Linked DNA regions of Homo sapiens: region 1 is linked to region 2. The links are contacts of gene promoters, found by promoter capture Hi-C in blood cells and fetal thymus (Javierre and others, 2016). All regions are on one chromosome and are shown on one strand. The core of a region is centred on a gene start or on the middle of the fragment in contact, and the rest is flanking DNA. Distances in the headings are between cores, read along the strand shown. Region 1 holds the start of EMC2 (ER membrane protein complex subunit 2). Region 2 holds the start of UTP23 (UTP23 small subunit processome component).

The links. The method cuts DNA at HindIII sites, captures the fragments that hold promoters and counts their contacts. A CHiCAGO score of 5 or more calls a contact.
Region 1: a contact is called between the fragment with the promoter of EMC2 here and the fragment with the promoter of UTP23 in region 2, in 1 of 17 cell types (naive CD8 T cells). The highest score is 8.7, in naive CD8 T cells.

What each region holds. Positions count from the first base shown.
Region 1 is chr8:108,442,046-108,445,535 of GRCh38, forward strand. It overlaps EMC2 (ER membrane protein complex subunit 2), which reads left to right and starts at 1,579. Exons shown (of 11, transcript NM_014673.5): 1 at 1,579-1,653. The coding sequence starts at 1,614. It overlaps LOC105375704 (a long non-coding RNA gene), which reads right to left and starts at 1,427. Exons shown (of 3, transcript XR_928530.4): 1 at 1,325-1,427. RefSeq lists a silencer at 1,413-1,532. The HindIII fragment of the contact is 5,303 bases long and covers 1-2,006 here.
Region 2 is chr8:116,764,998-116,768,492 of GRCh38, forward strand. UTP23 (UTP23 small subunit processome component) reads left to right here and starts at 1,527. Exons shown (of 3, transcript NM_032334.3): 1 at 1,527-1,794. The coding sequence starts at 1,607. It also overlaps a transcript of EIF3H not described here. RefSeq lists enhancers at 1,444-1,593, 1,604-1,913. The HindIII fragment of the contact is 9,967 bases long and covers 1-2,518 here.

The DNA of each region.
Region 1 (3,490 bases), core at 329-2,828, 8.3 Mb before region 2:
GGAGCATTAAAATATGTGAATTTCTGAGTATTTTTTAACTTTTTGAATGAAAGATTTTTAAAAAGTCTGTTTAGAAAGAATGCCAGCTCATTCAGAATTGAATCCAAGTATATACATTCACTAGTCTTCTCTGTTGTTAAGTGACTTCTCTGGGGTCTATGGTTTGATGGTTTTTTTCCTTTTTTTAAACAAACAAACAAAAAAACCTCTGCGGTTGACTGGAGCCGACAGGTGAGGAATGGAGAGATGTTGGTCAAATAGTACAAACTTTTGGTTGTAAGATGAATATGTTCTGGAGATCGAATGTACAGCATGGTGACTACAGTTATAATTCTGTATTGTATACTTTGAAGTTTGCTGAGAGATTTTTAAGTGTTCTCAACACACACACACACACACACACACAGGAAATATGTACGGTGATAGATGTGTTAATTAGCTTGCTTGTGGTAATCATTTCACAGTGTATATTTACATCTAATCATTACTTTGTATACCTTAAATATACACAATTTTTGTCCATTACACCTCAATAAAGCTGAGAAAAAAAACCCTCCACTCTTTTGACTTGTGGGATAGTATTATTTCTACTTCTCAAATCAACTGCCCCTTCTTTACTGACCAATAACTTTCGGCTGCATTGCAGTGATTTTTAGTTTTTTCTCAGCTTACATATTTCCTCTACAATCTCATGTCCCCATTGCTTCAAATACTAAATATACGCTTATCATCCTCAAATTTTTTACTTCCTGTCCAGACATTTCTCCTTAAGTCTAGGAGATGACGTCCAAAGTTTCCTAAAAGCAATTAGTCTGGTGGGAAAGGAGGCTCCCCCATCCACCCAGGAGTAATGAGGAGCGAAGTTCAGGAACTGTGAAGGTCTCATTCGTACATTCATTCCTTATAAGTACTTACATACTCGCGACAGTTTGAAACCTAGTGTGGCATGCAGACATGGATGAAGCAATGACAGGCACGACGAGCGTTAATGAAGGGTATAAGCTAGCGCGAGGGCATTCAAGGGAACTTCAGAGCGCAAAGGAAGAATCCCACTTAGTCTCTCAAAACTTTGGAGTTTATCCGTTTAGTCGATTAAAAAGTGAACGGAAAGCAAATCCCATTACGGAAGGAGGAAAGTTGGGGACAAATAAGGGATTCGTGCAGAAGGCTGCACTGCGGCCGGCCATGAAGAGAATAAGGGTACTTAAGGGAGTGTGAAGAGAATGAACAAGCCTAGGTAGAAAAAACTGAAAAGCCAGGATTGACGGACACTAAAAACCCAGCATTTGTTAAAAATCCACGTCAACACACACACACACCTCACCCCGAGCCAGCACCGTAGCCCCGCCAGCAGCCAGGGTATCCTGAGATTGCGGGAGCGCCACGCACCGCCCACCTAGCTCCGTCCACCGTCCAGCTCGCTCCGCCCAGCTCGCTCCGCCCCCTTCCCCGAAAGCCCCTCCGCAGAGCCGCGTGCACGTGCGTGGCGGATACCGCCCCCTCTGCTCTCTTGGCCAATGAGAAAAAGCTACGTAACTCTCCACCGCCCGGTGGCGGGTCACGTGACTGCGTCTCCCCGCCCTCTCACCCCGCTGCCTCTAGGTTCTGGGAAGATGGCGAAGGTCTCAGAGCTTTACGATGTCACTTGGGAAGGTAACTTCGGGTGGGGGCGGGTGCGGAAAGACTAAAAGCGCTGGGAAGCCGTTCGGGAGTACCCGCTGCTTTCGGGGAGCTGGGTTCTCTGGTGTCTTTTTGGTACCAGAGCCCTCACTGTACGGGCCAAGCTGAGGTGGAGGCTGAGGCTGACCCTTCCCTTGGCCCGGACGCGTACTCTGCAGCGTTTCCCACGGTGTCTGCTCCTCGGTTGACCTGCCCTCCTCCGCGCCAGTCCAGCGTCCCGGGGCCGCTTTTATTTATGAGGCGGGCGGGAGGGACTTGGGGCTGGGGTTGTCGCACGCTAACTGGTTGCTGGGCGGTGCGGAAGAGGCGGAATAGGTGGTTACTGAAGCTTCTTTGGAGCCAAGAAACACAGGGCCTGTAAGGCCCTTTACTAAGTGGTGTGTAAGGATTACAGCTCTGTGCAGAAAAGCTGTGTAAAAGATGCGTGAACAAATGTGATTCTCATATGCCACTCTACATTTAGTTTTCTTCTTAAACCCGGGTTTCCAGTTTCTTTTCCTTTTAGTCTAGTCTCTGTCCCACTCCTTCTCAAAACACATTTACACACACAACACAACTTCTTTCTTACTCCCTACTAGTAGTTTCTTTTCTGAAGGGAAAAATAACTAATTAACTCTGGGCTACGTAAGTGCTTACGTGTGATGGTCACTTTTCCCTATCCTTAGTTGATCTAGAGTGGGATATGTTCTTTAAATCTGGGAACAGCCAAACCTTGGATCAATTCTGTGTGCTTAAGAAACTTGAGTTTCATTAAGGCGTGGAATTTGTGTAATTGGAATTCATATTCCCAGCATTTAACATAATACAGGAGACTTCAGTAGCTAATTTGCTTAACGAATGCCTTCTTGGGATGTTTTAATAATGACCTGAAAACATGTGGACCGAAAGTTGTATTTTCTGTTTTATCGTGAATAAATATATCAGTTATTATAAAGTTGTAAATCCGTTACAAATAAAGCAAAATTTCTTTGTACTTGAACTGAATTAAATGATTTATTGACTTTATGGCCTCTAGCACGTTGTGAATCTCAGTATTTATACCTGAATTGAGGGATTCCATTATATTAAACAACAGTGTTGATTTCTTACTGCAAAATCTTGGCTCTGTCAACACACAGTCCCCACTTCCAAGGAAGTCACAATCTAATGGAGAAAACAAACCTGTAAACACACAGTTTTAAAAGGCTTGTGTCAGGGTATCTTCCGTAAGCTGAGTCGTAGATAAATGGATGTTATTTTTAATGCTTTTTAAAAAATGTTTTAAATATTACATAATTTTTAGAAAATGCTATTATGAAGGTATGTTCATTATAGGTTTCCTAGATGATAGTAGCATATATAAAATCCTGAGGGACGAGTAGCTGTATACTACCAACAGACAAGGTGATTTAACTGAGTAATTGGACCTTACCCTGTGGTCATTCTAAAGAGGATTGATGTAATTAATTTGGAATAATAAATAATAACTACTACACAAATTTGTAGGAACAAAGAAAACATTTTAAAGTGCTTTGTAAACTGTTAAGTACTATATAAAAGGATGTGTTACTATTAGCTAGTGCTAATATGATTATGTCCTTCCTCTGTATGATCTGGCGGTTGCCCATGTCTCCAGCTTTATCTTGAGCCCTTCTCCCTCTCACTTTGTGAGCTGCCTATGCTGGCCTTTGTTGAATACCCTAAATTGCCATGCTGCTTCTTAAAGCTGGCACATGCTAGTCCTTCCACTGGGAGTGTTCTTCCCTCCTTGCCTCACTCTTGCCCCCATTAAACTTTATCATTTATCAATTCCCCACAAAGCTCACCTACT
Region 2 (3,495 bases), core at 277-2,776:
CACCACATTTTTCTTAGTACTGAAAAGTGGCCAAGGAGCTGGTAGATAAATCTGAGGCTATTTAAGAAAAAATGTTTTAACTGTTTTGCAAGACTCAGGTGGTATCTCGTTTCTCTGTCTGTGGTGGGCGCATAGTTGGAGTAGAGAGTTGGCATACAGGGATAAAAAGAGGATTCAAATTGAAAAGTACTGAGCAATTACACTCAAAGACCTTGAATCCAACCCTGCAAAAGTTTTCATGGCTTCCAATTCCTAAATTCATTTTAAGTTTAAATGAAAGCAACCATCTAAGTGATGTGCTGGGACTCAGATCAGGGCTAACATTATAGATCTTATTCCAATTTCATAAACCTACATATTGAAATAAAACCCCAAATGCAAACAATGCATTCAATCACGTTGTAAATCATTTTCTGTGCTGGTTCTTTCAATCTTTAGCCAAAACTAGATCTGGGACAGATTCCAGGCAAGGACAAAAATGCAAAATTCCATACTCCCCATTCTTTGATTATTTTACCTTGAAGTGGATACTCGACAGTTAGCCACGGGAGAACTTGAAATTTTCTGATTCATTCTCCTCATTAATCAAATTGACCAAGTAATTTTTAAACCTCCAGTCAGCTTTGTGCCTTCCTGTTACTGGCCCAGTATGTAGTCTTCCTATGTCAGAGACCATGCACATAAAAAGAGTACTTGAAACTTATCTAGACCTACAACCAGTTTGACAGTGAGGAAGTTGAACCCAGCTTTCTTCGGGAGTTGCCCAAGATCAAACGGCTTGGGTTTGTGGCAAAACCAGGACTCAAGGTTAGGAATTCTGACTCTAGGCAAACGAAGCTCTTGAGAGTTCTTCCAAAACACTCCATGCGAGTGATTTAGGATGGTCCTAAGGCAGGAGGAAATGCAAAATGGTGGCACCCTTTGCCCTGACAAATGGTTCCTGAGTGACGTTAGTTTCTATGGTGGTGTAGCAAGAACATTTGAACTTCAGGCACGAAAACTGGGTTCCAGACACTAACAAACTACGTGCCCTTCGTGAACGTGCTTAATTTCTTTATGGGAAAGCAGCCAGTACAAACCTCCCCACTCATAGCTATCCAATATATCATTTCCTTCTTTCACTTGGGAATTATAAACATTCAGGGGAATAATGTAAGGTAAATCACTTAGGACAGTGTCTGGAACATATTAAGGCTCAATATTATCACTGACTACTACTATACTGCCAGTCTTTCAGAGAAGCTCTTGCTACGCGCCTCTAAAACGTAGGTAACACGCTAAATGTATTCTCGTAATTTTCTTTTACCGTGGCCCCAGACTGCGCATGTGCGCCCCCGTGCGGAATCGCGCACCCCAGCGGTTTTCCAGCGTACGCACAAGTTCCGCCCTAAGGGACCGCCCCTTTAAGCGCGGGCACTGCGGTGGAAGCGCGCGCTGGTCTGGACATGACGTAAACCAATGGGCAGGCCCGGAAGACAGAGGCGTTTGCTTCCGTGGCCAAAGGCGCTTCATTTCCGGGTGAAACTGGCATTGAGGGTACTGGGGCGTGCGTGAGGCGTTTACTGATGCTTCCTGGTCCGGTGGCCTCGGTCCCGGTAAGCCAGGCATGAAGATCACAAGGCAGAAACATGCCAAGAAGCATCTTGGCTTCTTCCGCAACAACTTCGGAGTCCGCGAGCCGTACCAGATCCTGCTGGACGGCACCTTCTGTCAGGCGGCGCTGCGGGGCCGCATCCAGCTGCGGGAGCAGCTGCCCCGCTACCTCATGGGGGAGACGCAGCTGTGCACCACAAGGTGGGCCCGGGGGGCTGGGGAGGAGGCACAGAGGGTCCGTCGGGTGTTGTAGAGGCGAGGCCGTTGCTCACAGACCTTCATTGCGAGCTCAGGAGGTGCAAAACGCCCCGCCCACGTGGAGTTGACAGTTAAGTGGAGAGGTGAAGGTGGTCAGGCGAATACCTATAATAGAGGCAGATTGGACAGTGCCCTGTGAATATCACGTGTCGTTAGCCTGGCGAATGAGAGCACATTATAGCAGAGAGATCCGACTTCGAATCTTGATCCCAGTTCTACCAGCTCTGTGATTTCTGTCAAGTTATTTAGCCTCTCTGAGCCTCGGATTCCTCATTTGTAAAATAAAGATGATAACTGCTTAGAAGATTGCTGTAAGCTCAAACGAGTATAGTGTACTAGAGCATTTTTCGGTATCCAAAGTGTACCCGTCTTCAAATGGTTGCTGTCATTTGCATAGCTTTTCTTAGTTTAAACCAAAACTCTGCAAGCCTCACAGTGAACCTGTGAGTTACCATCTTTGATGTCCAGGGCAAAAAGTCAGTACTTGAGATTAAGGAATCTGCCCAAGCACATTTGTTTATTCAACTCGCTTTATTAAGTACCTCCTATATGCCACATACTGCTCCCTCATGGCCAGTAAAGTGCATAAGTCAGTCTGCAGTGTGTGTTTTCACTCTAGGTCTGATGTTTCCCCACTTCATTGAAATGTGGGAACACTTAGGATGGAAGCTTGTCGGGATGAAGAGGAGAGAGGAGAGAATTGTGACAGATTTCAGATAACATTTGAGCCCATTCACTTGTTCAGTTCTGAGAGGAAGAACTATTTTGAATGACAGAAAAGAATGACACTTCTTGTTGTGGAGACCTCTTCACACGAAATGGAGTTATGAAATGCCTGGGAAAGAGGTTGCAGCACAGAATATATTTGGGAGTGAAACTAGGAAGAAGGCAAATTGAGGCTAGGCCATGAAGAACTATTAAGAAATTTAGTAGTTTTTTCATTGTAGAATATTTACTTTTAAAAAGCAAAAAAAGAAAATTAAAATGACTCATAATACCACTACTCACGAATAATCACTGTTAACATGTGCAGTGTCATCCATCCAGTTCTTTATACACACTCACACAAGCACAAGAATGGACTTTTAAGCCAGGCAAGGTGGCTCACACTTGTAATCCTAGTAGCTACACAGGAGGCTGAGACAGGAGGGTTGCCTGAGTCTAGGAGTTTGAGGTGAGCCTGAGCAACGTAGGAAACCCCCATCTCTAACTACAGCCATAACAAAGTATGGGCTTTTTCTGTGTATACTGTGTTAATAGTCTCCTTTTCCTCACATACGATTACTTAATGAACAGCTATCTGTATTTGTTCAGAATTTCTCAAGCAGGGTCTCGGCTGGGTTACAGATACCCCCAAAGTTTTGATCCCCTTAGTCTTTAGGGCTGTCTAACAAATCCTTCAGTAGTCTTTGCTCCTGAATTGATTGCTTTTGTCTACAAGCAATTTGTCCATATACTCCTGTGTGCCATAGAAATATTAACATTTTAAATATAGTGCTATGATATTAAAAAGGTTGAGAAGTGCCACATAAAATTATATTCTACAGCAATTTTTCTAACAAATTTATTTTAACTCTGGAATTTTTCAGACAACTCAAAGGTAGAATAATATAATGAAACCTCTCTCCAGCTTTTGCAGTTATT